Regions from separate parts of the Homo sapiens genome. Here region 1 is linked to region 2. The links are contacts of gene promoters, found by promoter capture Hi-C in human tissues and cell types (Jung and others, 2019). All regions are on one chromosome and are shown on one strand. The core of a region is centred on a gene start or on the middle of the fragment in contact, and the rest is flanking DNA. Distances in the headings are between cores, read along the strand shown. Region 1 holds the start of SRRM2 (serine/arginine repetitive matrix 2). Region 2 holds the start of MAPK8IP3 (mitogen-activated protein kinase 8 interacting protein 3).

Region 1 (6,856 bases), core at 855-3,354, 1.0 Mb after region 2:
ACACAGGGAGACACAATCTCTACAAAAAACTCCACCTCTACTAAAAATAAAAAAATGAGCTGGGTGGTGGCGTGCGCCTGTAATCCCAGCTACTTGGGAGGCTGAGGTACAAGAATTGTAGTGCGTGGAGATCGTGCCACTGCACTCCAGCCCGGGGTTAGGAGTGAGACTCTGTCCCAAAAAAATAAAATAGACAAAAGACACGAAGAGAAATTTCTCCAAAGATGTACAAACGGCCAACAAGCACATCAAAAGATTCTCAGCATCATCAGTCATTAGGGTACTGCAAACCATGTTTTGTCACTATTCACGGGCATTAAATGTGCTGACTCACGCACAAAACATTCCATAAAGAATATCAGTGGGGGTACAGGAAAGGGTCTCACTGGAGGTGCTGGGGTCTTTAACCAGAAAGGCAAAGCCTTTGCCACTTTACTATGCCACTCCAGAGTTGCGGCCGGCTTACAGAAGCACCGTCCATAGATGCAGAGTTCAGACACTCCAATCTGCGATCAGAGCTCCTGCAGGAGATGGGGGTGGTGGGGGGGAGGGTCTCCCGGCTCTAGCATCTGAGATAAGTACATCCTCCCACGGGCAAGTGAAAAACAAATCTTAAAGCCGGATACGGGCCGGGCGTGGTGGCTCACGCCTGTAATATCAGCACTTTGGGAGGCTGAGGTGGGCAGATCACCTGAGGTCAGGAAATCGAGACCAGCCTGACCAATATAGTGAAGCCCCGTCTTTACTAAAAATACAAAAATTAGCCAGGCGTGGTGGCACACGCCTGTAATCCCAGCTACTCGGAAGACTGAGACACGAGAATCACTTCAACCTGAGAGACAGGTTGCAGTGAGCCGACAACACACCATTGCACTCCAGCCTGGGTGACAAGTGCGAAACCACGTGAAAAAAGAAAGAACAACAACAACAACAAAAAACAAGGGCCAGATAGGGTGTCATGCACGGGTAGTCCCAGCTACTTGGGAGGCTGAGGTCGGAGGATCGCTTGAGCCCCAAATTCGAGAACAGCCTGGGCAAAACCCTGCCTCTTAAAAACACCCCCAAATCGTAATAACAAATATAAATCCTTGCACTCAAATGGACAGTTCATTACGTGGTACCGCGTCCTGTTGCGGATCAAGGCCACCTGAGTTGGTTAGGACAGCTAAGCGGGACGTCCAGGGCTGCTCGCCAGCGGTGGGTCTAGATATGAACTTGTGCTTGAGCAGCCCAGCGTCTTACAACTCTGCTGTGAGGACGGCTGGCTGATTATCAGGCCCAGAATCACGGGCTTAGAAACATTAACAGGAAGTACGGTACCGAAAAGTGGAAACTTTAAGGTGCTTATTATTTTCCTCCTGCCTTGTTCCTGTATGTGCCGCTTCACCGGTATCACGTCCTGGGTCTGGTGGGACCCCGGCCTGGCTGCCCTACCGGAAGCTAAGAAAACTCCTCCCCCAGGGGTGGCCGTCGGGCCTCAGCCCGGTCTACAGCGGGAGAACGTGGCCCATGCTACGGGTAACTGGTTGGGCCCCTGGTGCAGGTCTAGGGCCTGCAGCCAGGCTCGGGGCCTCCGGGGGTGCCCGCTGGCTGGGGTCTGAGGCGGCTTCTCTCGGGTACGGGAAGGCGGACTGCTGTGCAGCTGCGGGCTCGCTCGGGAAACCCAAAGTCACACGAAAGCGGCAGCACCACCGCGGCTGGGATATCGTCTCCCAACATGGGGAGACAAAATGGCCGCCACGCCCCGAGCCGAAATTACATCCGGGCTCCGCGACACGCCCGAACCACAACTCCCAGAATGCTCTGCATCGACAGCGGGAGACGAGACGCGCTCGGGCGTCGCTTTGCTGCCGCTAGGCCCTGTGCTCCTCCCCGCAGCGGAAGGCCTACGAATACGCGGTGTCTTACGTCGCTTCCTCCGTTCTTCGTTGCACTGGCCAACGGGACGCTTAGTCTTTCGGCAACGGGGTGAAACCTTCCTTGTGCCTGAAAAAACGGTACTTCGCGGTGTGGCTTCGGCGCCTGCGCAAAAGGCCGCGGGGCGCACTCCAGTTCCCGGCAGGCCCCGCGACGCGCGTTTGCGTGCTGACGCACGCAGTTAGTCGTGCTGACGTGCAGCGCGGCCCAGGCGGGGTGCGAGTGGCGCAGTTGGAGCCCGTTGCGGCCCCTGAGGAAGCGAGGAGGCGTCGGCGTCGGCTGAGGCGGGCGGACCGGCGAGGCGAGGCGGCGGCCCCAGGCCCGAGGGACTCGGGAGCTCGAGCAGCGGCGGCGGCAAGACCTCTCCCCCTCGGAGGCGGCGGGCGGAGGCGGCGGGTGAGAGGGTGAGGGAGCCAGCGAGCCGGGTGGGGGAGGGGCGGCGGCCCCGGCGCGAGGCCAAAGCGCGCGGAGAACTGCCCAGGCCGCCGAGCTCCTCCGCGCGCACGCGCGCTCGACGCCCTTCGCTGGCGCGGACGCCCTCGCCTCCCTTCCCCCTTCCCGCCGTTCCTGTCGCGCGCGGGCTTCACCCCCCCCCGCCCCTCCCCCATGACAACGGCGTTCGCAGCCGCCTGTACTCGGGTTCGCGAGCGCCCTTGGTGAGGGGGGAGGGCGCGCGCCTCGGCTTCACTCCTCCCCCCAACATGTGCCGCCGAGGTGGCCTTCCTGCAGCTGCCGTTTTCGGCCCTTAAGTGGCGGGGAAGGGGCGGCGGCGGGGGGCTTGCTCCTGGACCCTTGCCCCCGGTTCCAGATCTCCTTTCCTCGGGCTTCTCTTCGGCGTTGGGCTGCCCGTGTCGGGGGCCTCCCAGACTGCGGGACGCCGCGCAGCCCCCTCCCCCATTCCGCAAGGCCGAAAATAGGCCCCCGGCGCTGCGGGGAGGGCCTTGAACTTCGTGGGCCGGATTTAAATGGTTTAGGATTCCCGGCTATCAGCCTTTGAGTTGTTAGTGGCGGGGAGAAACCCCAAATCTTAAAAACTGTGAAGAAAGTGAACGTGTTCAGTTTACATTTGTAAGGTAGACCGTGCGTTCCCTTTTTACACTTTTTCAACGTCTCCCGAGAATTCGTGTTCAAACTAAGGAGGCTTTTGGAGACCTTCGTTGGGAAGAAAACGCCAGACTCATATATAAGTTTTCTGGTTGGTTTCAGGCGTTCTTTGGCACACAGCTCTTCTGAAGCTTGGTTTCCACTCGGCTTCAGTTAGGACGAATCTGGATCAGAATTTCAGAGTGTTGTGTTGTCTTTCATCCTAAGTGCGTGGGCTTAGGGCTCTTCTAAAGCTACTATTTTAGCTTTCTGGGTTCTTTGTGTCCACTCAGCCGCTCTGGAGCGCCCCGGTGCTGAGCTGGCTGTGCTTGCTGATGTCCATTTTTTTCGACAACCCTTGTCTCCCCTTTTTCTCCCCTTTTGGTACCGTTTTCTTTTTTGCATATTTTACTGTTGAATTCAAATATATCTTTCTACTTCATTGTTAGCTTACCACTCGGATAATTTCCCAACAGAAAAGGGTGTTTTTGTCTTCCTTTGTACTTTTTACTTTCTGCTTTTAACTTGGGTAACTTTTGCATATCCACTGTCTATGGCCCCCACTTTAAGAGTTTTGTAATATCGTTTGGTTTGGTGATTTGTGTGTGGTGTTGATCTTCCTACTTTCTGTGTCTTAACACACCCCTTAGATGCCGTGGGGTCGTCGTCTTTTTTTGTGGGGTGGACTAGGTGGCTCATTCCCTAAAAGTTCTCCGAAACATTGTGACCTAATATCCTTTGCTTAGCACCTACTGGTTTTTCTTTTTTTTTTTTTTCCGAGACGGAGTCTAGCTCTGTTGGCAGGCCGGAGTGCAGTGGCGCGATCTCGGCTCACTGCAACCTTCCGCCTCCCGGGTTCAAGCGATTCTCCTGCTTCAGCCTCTGGAGTTGCTGAGATTACAGGCAATCGCCGCCGCCCAGCTAATTTTTGTATTTTTGGTAGAGATGGAGTTTCACCGTGTTGGCCAGGCTGGTGTCAATCTCCTGATCTGGTGATCCGCCCACCTCGGCCTCCCAAAGTGCAGGTGTTACAGGCGTGAGCCACCGTACCCGGCCTGGTTTTCCTTTCTTAAGGAGTGGGGGGATTTTTGTGTGAGGTGGTATGGAAGTGTGGGTGAATGGTTAAGCTGAAGAATTAAGTGCAGGTCAAAAACATGCTGCAGGGGAAGCAGAAATTAAGTGGGGTAGGGGAGAGGCGAAGAAGGACCTAGTTTTAAACCGTGAGGAGGATTGGTACTAGAAGATGAAAATGAGGATTGGGGTGTAGAGAAATTGATTTTTTGAGCCATACAGTTTTTCATTTTTTCCTGGATTTCTGCTTGCCTTATCCAGGTTTAGCCTCTTCTGTCACCTTCTGCTTTCAATATTGGGTCTGCTACTGGGCTTGGGTAGGGACCCATCCTTAGGCGCATGCGCTAGTATATTTTTCCAAACATTTGTATGATGCTTCTTCATTCTGGAATTTTCTAAATGCATCCTTCCCTTCTATCCAGTTCTTTTACATCTTTGATTACTCTCTCCGCTTTACGTATTCCTTAGGGTTTTTTCTTAGTAGTATTTTCTCATATATGCATGTTCTAGGAAACTATCTTGGAGAGGATGAGGGTGAGAAAGAGAGTATATGTAATAGGAGAAAGGAATAGAGTATGTGTAGCCAAGGAATCTAACCAGGAAAGCTGGGACTTGAGAATTTTTCAGAATCACGTTAGGGTTGGGACAAGTTGAAAGGCTAGAACCTGGGAGGAGGCATGGGGTTAACACAGGAGAGAAGGAAGAGGCAGGGCTGAGAGAGAAAAACTAGGAAGTGCTATCCAGGGGATTGGTGGGGAAAGCCAACGGTTGGACATTAATGAAAGTGGGGTGTAGAGAGGGTTTCTACATAGATTTAGGGCAAGGTATATGGAGAAGGTATGGGAACGGTTGGAACAGAGGAGGCTGGTTTGATGTGTTTAAATAGAGCAGAGTTGAAAACAGGTAATATTTGACAGCTGGCAAGACAGGGAGGAACTGCAAATTGTTGTAAATCCTATTGAGAGGAAGGAAATTGAAGGAATAAAATATCAGGATAGTTGATAGGATCTTTAAATATTTGGAATCAAGGAAATGGCCCTTACCTGGGAGGTGAAGTATATGACGATTATCCAAGGTTCATGTGTGTTTCTGATGTGCATGCTGGCCTTTAGTTGGGGTGTGAGGCTGCACATTCTGAACCAACTAGTCTGCTGTTCAGATACCTAGGGGCTGTGTAGTTTATTTCATATTCGTATAGGGTGGTCTGAAATCCTTAGGTAAGTTTTTGGGAGAGTCTTTGGACATGGACTAGAGGCCGTTGGGTGCCACAGATCTGTGTCTGGTGTTTGTTGTGACCAGGAGGCTTTGGTTGGTTACCAGAGGTTAGGAATTAGAGTAGTTGGTAAACACACCACTTGTGCATTTTGGGGCCAAAGGAGAACAAAAAGGGACAGTGTGGAGAGATTTTAGAGGAACAAGATCCTTGTTTGCCTAGGGTGGAAAAAGAAGAAAATTTAGGTGTAGGGAGGGATTATTTAGAATTCTGTGCAAGGGCATTGAGAGAAAGGCTGTAAGAACTGGGCTGTGATTTGGTAGAAAGGAAATTTGGAAGGGCAAAGAAGTGGTTTTCTTGGGAGACCAGGAGGATGGTGGAGCATTATACAGCGAAGACTTAGTGTGAAGATCAATGTTGAATTAGGGATGAAGGAGAGCAGGGACTTGGGTGTGGGGCGGTAAGTGGTTAGTTTGGGGCCAGGGGCCTGACCCGTGTCTCCCCGCTCCCCCTCAGGAGCGGTGGTGCCCCCCCCGGGCACGGGGCCATGTACAACGGGATCGGGCTGCCGACGCCCCGGGGCAGCGGCACCAACGGCTACGTCCAGCGCAACCTGTCCCTGGTGCGGGGCCGCCGGGGTGAGCGGCCTGACTACAAGGGAGAGGAGGAACTGCGGCGCCTGGAGGCTGCCCTGGTGAAGCGGCCTAATCCTGACATCCTGGACCACGAGCGCAAGCGGCGCGTCGAGCTGCGATGCCTCGAGCTGGAGGAGATGATGGAAGAGCAGGGGTGAGGGAGAGCTGGGGGAGAGTCAAGCACTGAATGAGTGCAGAGCTGGGGGTGTTAGGTGGGATGTATAGGGAGCTTAGGGTGGTTGAAAGAGGCCTGGCAAAGAGTTGTGGTAGGGGAGGAGGCAGATGAGCTCTAGAGAAGTGAAAACAGTTAAGGGACAGTGCAGAGTGGGAAATGAGAAGGCTGTGTGTCTGGGGCATAGATGGGAGCCTGAGGTACTAAATGGAGGCACGTGGGAGAAGGGAGGGGCCATTGAGGAACAAAAATGTGTTTTAAGGAAGAGATGGGAAAGCAGAGACCAGGTAGAGGAGCTAGGTAAGCTGATAGGTGTTGTCATTGGTAGAAAAGAAGAAGATAAATGGATGTAAGGATTGAGGCCTTGGAAAGTAGCATAGGCAGGAAAAGAGGAATTAGAAGAATACGTGAAGAAGTGGGAATCATGGGCTGGGAAGGGAAATTTTGGAAAAGGAGCCCATTAAGGCAGAAAACTCTTTTAGAGCAGTGGTTTTAAACTTCAGCAATGGTGATCCTTTTATACAGTATCCCTTACTTTGGAATCCCAGGAAGTAAAAGGCACATTCTTGTTGAAGTTGGGGAGGAGCACTTGGAACCCTGCTTGCTTAACTTTTTTCTTTTGGTCCCTGAGGTGTAGCATATTTAAAATCCACTGTTCTAGAGGGAGTAGTAAGTAGAGGGAAGAAAGATGATGGGAAAAGATCAGACAGAAGGGACTTTTGGGTGAGCGAAAAGTTCTGTGTGCGCATGGAGAGGGAGGGGCCC
Region 2 (7,330 bases), core at 3,201-5,700:
CAAGAAAACAGGTGGGCATGGTGGCTCAGGTCTGTAGTCTTTGGGTCTTTGGGAGGCCAGGGTGGGAGGATCACTTGAGCTCAGGAGTTTGAGACCAGCCTAGACAACATACTACGACCCTGTCTATACAAAAAAAAACTTCTCTAAATTAGCCGGATGTGGTGGTGCATGCCTGTAGTCCCAGCTACTCGGGAGGCTGAGTGAGGCAGGAGGATCACTTGAGACCAGGAGGTTGTGGCTGTAGTGAGTGATGATCATGCCACTGCACTTCAGCCTGGACCACAGAGCAAGACCCTGTGTAAAAAAATAAAATAAAAAACAGATTGGATGTCTTTCTTCTGATGTATTAGCTATTTTCATATGTTTTCTAACATACTTAATATCCTTACAGGCATTATGTGGATTCAGGGTAAACTTCTCAGACTGTGAGCCTGAGAGTTCCTCTCTAGGAGGCTCCACACCATTCTGCCTGCTAGATCGGGGCCAGATGAGATGAAAGTCAACGCTTGAGAAAGAAAACCAACATGCATTAACTGAAACACCGTCTTCACTTGTTCATCCACAGGGTATAGAGCGAGTTCCAAGAACCAGGCTAGGAAATGACACGCTAAGTTTCCTATTTCTAGCAGCTGCCAAGGCCACCAGCAAGCATGGGAACCTCTGGGAGTCACAGCTCCTCCGTCTCCAGAGGCCTGGCAGTGGCCAAGTCTAGAAGGACGCGGGTGCCACCTGGTACAGGGTGAGGGTGTGAATAACAGACCCCGAAGGGTTGCCACCTCGAGCCCCGTGCCTTGTCCAGGAATACACAGGCTCTTTTGATGTCAGGTAACTTTGCCATATGATCTTTGTGGTGTACCTGGTAGGTCACACCCTGTGAGTGTGTAGATGCCTCCTCCCGTGCTGGCTGCTTAATTTCTTCTGCACTCATAATCCTGACCATCTTGAAGATCATCACTGAAATACTCCTGTGTAATGTGTGGCTACAAAGTGCTATCTAAAGATGCTCTCTCAAACTCAGCTCATGAAGATGAGAGGAACATCACAGGGAACTGTGTGGCTTCTTAGCAGGCATCAGGGCAGATACTTAGAAATTAAAGTTGAATTTTAGAAACTTACATTTTATATTTTAATGCCCATCTTACATTTTAAGGTATTTTAGTGAGAAAAAGTTGCATCCCAAATAGTATTTCTGAATCTGAAAGGAAGTCAACTCCTCTGTTACTAGAAGTTCGTTCTTCTTTTTTTTTAGACAGAGCCATTCTGTCACCCAGGCTGGAGTGCAGTGGCACAATCTGCTCACTGCAGCCTCAACCTCCCAGGCTCAAGTGATCCTCCCACCTCAGCCTCCCAAGTAGCTGGGACTGCAGGCATGCACCACCACGCCTGGCTGATTTTTTTTTTTTTTTGGTAGAGTCTGGGTTTCACTATGTTGCCCGGGCTGGTCTCAAGCTTCTGGATTCAAGCGATCCTCCCTCCTTGGCCTCCCAAAGTGCTGGGATTACTGGTGTAAGCCACTATGCCCAGCTGTAAGCAGTTCTAATTCAGCACCAACTTTCAGGAGAAGACCAGTTGTATGATTCCATAAGTGTCAAGAATTATCCAGCACCTTGTTAAAATTTCATTTTAACCAACTTAAAGTAACAAATCTGTGCAATCATGGTAGTGATAATTAATCAATTGAGTTGATGGCCAAGTCTGTTGGCCTCTCCCTGTGGTAGCATTGTTCCTACTGTAGTGTGCTACCTCAGGAATTCAAAGGGCTCAAGTTTCTCAAAGGTATAAAGCAGAAGCTTTAAACATCCCCCAAAATGCAAGCTTGCTCTAACTTGTTCACCAGGAAGAATTATAGATTACATCTGTTTGCCCAGCCTTATCATTTTCACTTTATGGAACCTCACAACTCTCCGTAACCTTTATCGCACGTTATTTGCTGGAGATGGCGCCATGCTCCTTTCATGGATTAGCTGACATTCCTAATAGGCTGGATATTTTAGGCTGTTTTGCAGGCTTAGAAACAGAGATTTGGGGCCAGGCACGGTGGCTCATGCCTGTAATCCCAACACTGGGAGGCTGAGGTGGGTGGATCACCTGAGGTCAGGAGTTTGAGACCGGCCTGACCAGTATGGTGAAACCCCCATCTCTACTAAAAATTACAAAAATTAGCCAGGCGTGGTAGCACATGCCTGTAGTCCCAGCTACTCGGGAGGCTGAGGCAGGAGAATGGCTTGAACACGGGGGGCGGAAGTAACAGTGAGCTGAGATGGTGCCACTGCACTCCAGCCTGGGCCACAGACTGAGACTCCATCTCAGGAAAAAAAAAAAAAGAAAAGAAAAGAAATGGAGATTTGGCAAAATTAAGTCACTTGGGATCCCAGGAAATTGGAATCTGAGGCTGAATGAAACCTCTTAGTGGGATGGTTGAACATGTATACGGCAAATTATGTTGCAAGTGGAAAATGTGAAAAACACAATAGAGCCTGGCATGGTGGCTCACACCTGTCATCTAAGCACTTTGGGAGGCCAAGGGGGAGGATCGCTTGAGGCCAGGAGTTCAAGACCAGCCAGAGTAACAGTGAGACCTCTGTCTCTACAAAAATGTTTTTAAAATTGGCCAAGCAGTGGTGGCTTACACCTGTAGACCCAACTACTTAGGAGGCTGAGGTGGGATCACTTGAGCCTAAGAGTTCAAGTGAGCCCTGATCATGCCAGTGCCTCCAGCCTGAGCAACAGGGTGAGACCCTGCCTCTAAAAACTGAACAACAAAAAAAATCAGTAGGGTGTCAGCTACGGGAGTTACTGTTTCGGTGCAATCAGATTAGGATGAGAGGATCTGAACTGATGAGCATTGCAGTAGGTGAAAGACGGTAAGTGGCCATTTCTATTAGCATTAAATAGTCACTGATGTGGTTTCATCAGGATTCACAATACATGTGTGGCTCCCAAATTGAGTTTCAAAGTCTTGGGTTCATGGTGTCCCCTGCCCAGCAAAATAAAGTGCAAATCTTACGGAGCAACACATTTTAAGTTCAGGCCTCAAGTACTTCCAGAGACAAAAGTCCTGGGGACACTGGCTCAGAATGGGGGAAAGGGGACCCTGGGCCAAGAGTCAACCAGGATGACATGCAGAATCAGACCTGCAAGGGCTGCAGATACTGTAGTTATGAGGCACACCCAACGCTTAAAGATAAATATGTGGTTGGAAGTATAAGAGCCTATTAAAACTGCTAGAATATAAGAAATCAAATAGGACAAAAACAGAATCATTGGCAGGGTGCAGTGGCTCACGCCTGTAATCCCAGCACTTTGGGACGCCGAGGGAGGCGGGTGGATCACTTGAGGTCAGCAGTTCAAGACCAGCCTGGCCAACATGGTGAAACCCCGTCTCTACTAAAAATACAAAAAAATGAGCCGGGCGTTAATAGCGCGTGTCTGTAGTCCCAGCTACTCAGGAGGCTGAGGCAGGAGAATCGCTTGGACCCAGGAGGCGAAGGTTGCAGTGAGCCGAGATCGCGCCATCACACTCCAGCCTGGGCGACAAGAGCGAAACACCGTCTCAAAAAAAAAAAAATCGGTGCAATTAATAACCCAGTGGATGGGTTAAACAGATTGCACGTAGCTGAAAAGTAACCGAAAATCTGGACTGGCGCGGTGGCTCACGCCTGTCATCCCAGCACTCTGGGAGGTCGAGGCGGGCGGATCACTTGAGATCAGAAATTTGAGACCAGCCTGGCCAACATGGCGAAACCCCGTCTCTACTAAAAATACAAAATTAGCTGGTCTGTAATCCCAGCTACTCCGGAGGCTGAGGGAGAAGAATCACTTGAACCCAGAAGGCGGAGCTTGCAGTGAGCCAGGATCGCGCCACCGCACTCCAGCCTGGGCGACAGAGCAAGACTCCATCTCAAAAAAAAAAAAAAAAAAGAAAATCTGAAGCAGTCAGTGCAGTAGGGAGAAGTGGGCGAAAGGAAGGAGGCCACGCTGCTGGGTTTCAGGATGAGATGGGCGTTGAGGGTGCATTCACAGAATCCCGGGAGGAGCCAGCTGAGCGGGGAAGGCATCAGGAGAGGGGAGGCACTGAGCGGGGCGCGGTGCTGTAGGGAACGGAGGCTCATCAGGGCGGCCGGGATTGAGGCGCAGGCGCTGAGCCTTCACCTAAGTCCGCCGAAGTGTGCAGAGCCTGGAGACGGGATCGAGGTCACCGGAAGCCCACGGTTGCGGGGACATGATCAAGCTACAGCGCGCTGGGGGAAGCGACCACTGCCGCCCCGCGGATCCCACCGGCCTGGCCGGGAGCTCCCTCTGCCCGGCTCACCCGCGCTTCCGGCCCGAAGCCCGGCTTCCTCTGACGTCACGGCCCCTGCGCCCCCTGGCGGCGCGGCTGCGGCGGGACGCGCGGGCACCGCCCCCTCCGGCTGGAGGGCGGGACTTCCGGTGAGTGAGTGACGGGCGCAGCCTCGGCAGCGGCGGCGGCGGAGCCCTGAGGCGACAGCAGCTGCGGGAGGCGACGGGCTGCGGCCTGCGGAACCTGAGGCAGCTGGGGAGGGCCGGGCGCGCCGGCCGGATAGCGAGCCGCGCTGGCGGCGGCGGTGGCCGCGATGATGGAGATCCAGATGGACGAGGGCGGCGGCGTGGTGGTGTACCAGGACGACTACTGCTCCGGCTCGGTGATGTCGGAGCGGGTGTCGGGCCTGGCGGGCTCCATCTACCGCGAGTTCGAGCGCCTCATCCACTGCTACGACGAGGAGGTGGTCAAGGAGCTCATGCCGCTGGTGGTGAACGTGCTGGAGAACCTAGACTCGGTGCTCAGCGAGAACCAGGAGCACGAGGTGGAGCTGGAGCTGCTGCGCGAGGACAACGAGCAGCTGCTCACCCAGTACGAGCGTGAGAAGGCGCTGCGCAGGCAGGCGGAGGAGGTGCGTGGGCCGCGGGACCCGCCCGCATCCCCGTCCCGGACCCCCAGCCAGCCCCGGGCCCCGGACCCAACACCCGTCCCGACCCCAGACCCCGCTCCGGCACCCCGGACCGCGGGACCCCTGGACCCCCAGACCCCGCCCCGAGACCCGCCTGGACCCCATATCCCCCGCCCCGGGACTTCCCCACCCCCTCTGCCCGCCGTGAGACACCTCCCTAGAGCACTCCCCCGCCTGCCCCGGGACCCCACCCCGACTCCCGGGGACCCCCTTTTCCGCCCAGGCCTGGGCCCTGGCCCCCTCCTCCGTGCCCCCAGCCCTGAATCTTCAGCCCCAAACCCGATGTGCCTGGCGTCATCCCCGGGGAGCTCAGCTTCAAAGCCAGGCCTCACTCTCCCCTCCCCACCCACCTCTGCATGACAATTGCCTTTGCTTTCGTGCGTGTGTTCAGTCAAAACCGTTTCCCGACCCCAAGTGCTACCTCTGTTGGCTGCCATTCTAAACCCATCTAGAAAAGGAATCTTTTGGTGTTCTTAGGGGGCTGCAGCCGTCTGTGGATGATGTTGGAGACCTTTCCCTTGTCCCTAATCCCGTATTTTGAAGGTCTGTGACACGGGTGAATTGGGTGGTTGATGTAAACACAGAACAAGGCCGCAGGCGGGCTGCTCCTCTGTCAGCAGAAGGAACACTCGAGTTTCTGGAGGTGATGTCTTTGCCCCCTTGGTTCCTTGCTTGGCGAGATTGTTAGCTGATGTAGCCAGGGCTGAGAAACTCCACTCTGGCTTCTGAGGAGTTAACAGTCTGAGTTTGAAGCGTTTAATTCTGTGCTAGGATGTCTCCATAACCTGGAAATCGCTTGTCTGTGAAGCAGTTACAAGAGCCGGGCCCTGTGGGGAGCACCACTTAGCTTCATTCATTCACCGTCAGATACTGAGCTCGGCCTGCCTGTGTGTGGGCCCAGAACCTCGCCCTTTGTCAGAAACAGGTTCAGGGAGGCTGGTTCCCATCCCTGCTTTGCCTCTGTGACCTTGGCCTGTCGCCTGCCTGGGGTTCGATTTTCCATCAAAGGAGTGAATTGCACTAGGCGATCTCCAAGCCCAGAAATTCTCTCATTCTAGGAGTTAGGTAATGCTGTTTGACTTATGAATAGAAGTGTCTTAGGAAATGAGCTTCAATTCCTTTTCAATTAATTCGGCTTAACACATTCTTGACTTTAATAGGAAAATAAAAGATTGTGTCAGTATTTTGGCTTTTTCTGAAACCAAGGTGATTTATGGCCTAGTTTGGTTTAAAGCGTGTTTATAAAAATCATAACAGTATGTTGTATCATTCCTCCTTTCCTGTGGTTTCTATTGCGTTTGGGCTTCGTGTCTGTCGCGAGGTGGTTATGCATTGATTGGAATGCCCCGGTTCCAGCAAAGCTGAGTTAAAGCTCTCAACCTAAGGGAACGCAAAGGTTCATGGATTTTGGAGCTCAGGGTGACTATAGGCATTTTACTGGGAAGGAAACTTGTCCTGAGAAGTGGAGGGGCTGAACCAAGGTCACCCACCCCAGAAGTGCCCAGCCAGGATGCAGAGTGAACCCGACACCGGCCTGGGCACTTGCTTCCATGTCAGGCAGCTGCAGGCACCGGAGGGCTGCTCCCCAGAAGCCTGGAGTGCCAGGGCTGCCCTCGCTCAGCTGTGGAGCTGTGGCTGCCCCCTGTGCTGGGCACCGCCCTCCACTGCTCTCCCACACTCAGTGGCCTGACCTGGATTTCAGGTGGGTTTCTTTTTTTCACCTTGTACCTGTGTGGTCAGTATAGTGGACGAGAAGGAACTGAAAGGAGAAAATCAAGATGGACAACGTTAAGGCTAGGAATTATAACCTTGCCGCTTAAAAATGAGCTGTGCACAGGATAGGCGCTGCCCAGCTCTGTGCGGTTCACATGCAAGCTGCTGTGAGTGCATCTGCCCTCCCCCAGGGCTCCTGCTGAACCAAGCTGGCGGGTGTGCGTGTGGTTTGCAAAGCTATCACCTTTAGTCTGAGACCCACCATTGCCCCAGCGCTTTAGAGAAGCTGCACCGAGAGCTTCGGGAGCCGAGCCCCGAAGCCAGCCAATGCTTGGCCAGCATGGAGGCTATGATTAAACGCTAACGGGGCGCCCTTGGAAAGACCTCAGGGCTTTACAACTAAGGAAGAGGGCTCGATGCTGTCAACATTTGGCATGCCTACTCCTCTACTGAATCAAGCAGACCTTCATTTCCAACTTTGTAGACCATTGTGCCCTGTGGGTCGGCGTCTTTTCTAGGCAGGGACTTGTGATCACATAGACGTGTGTCTGATAAGAGGGGAGCGGGACGTCACACGCTGCAGGCGTGTCTTGTTGCAGAGGAGCTCCTGGGTGAGCTGTCAGCAGAAGCTCCGTCCCCAGCCACTC

The links. Contacts are between HindIII fragments. The study calls those that stand out against the background at their distance.
Region 1: a contact is called between the fragment with the promoter of SRRM2 here and the fragment with the promoter of MAPK8IP3 in region 2, in 1 of the 25 tissues and cell types used here (lymphoblastoid cells).

What each region holds. Positions count from the first base shown.
Region 1 is chr16:2,750,534-2,757,389 of GRCh38, forward strand. It overlaps SRRM2 (serine/arginine repetitive matrix 2), which reads left to right and starts at 2,105. Exons shown (of 15, transcript NM_016333.4): 1 at 2,105-2,313; 2 at 5,801-6,073. The coding sequence starts at 5,832. It overlaps SRRM2-AS1 (SRRM2 antisense RNA 1), which reads right to left and starts at 2,067. Exons shown (of 6, transcript NR_027275.1): 1 at 1,909-2,067. RefSeq lists enhancers at 985-1,827, 1,427-1,596, 1,657-1,946, 1,828-2,670, 2,671-3,513 and silencers at 2,127-2,436, 2,457-2,516. The HindIII fragment of the contact is 13,386 bases long and covers 1-6,856 here.
Region 2 is chr16:1,701,745-1,709,074 of GRCh38, forward strand. MAPK8IP3 (mitogen-activated protein kinase 8 interacting protein 3) reads left to right here and starts at 4,451. Exons shown (of 32, transcript NM_001318852.2): 1 at 4,451-4,913. The coding sequence starts at 4,596. JPT2 (Jupiter microtubule associated homolog 2) reads left to right here. Exons shown (of 5, transcript NM_144570.3): 5 at 1-342. RefSeq lists silencers at 3,004-3,298, 4,205-4,544, 4,815-4,924, 4,945-4,994 and an enhancer at 3,782-4,646. The HindIII fragment of the contact is 16,634 bases long and covers 1,620-7,330 here.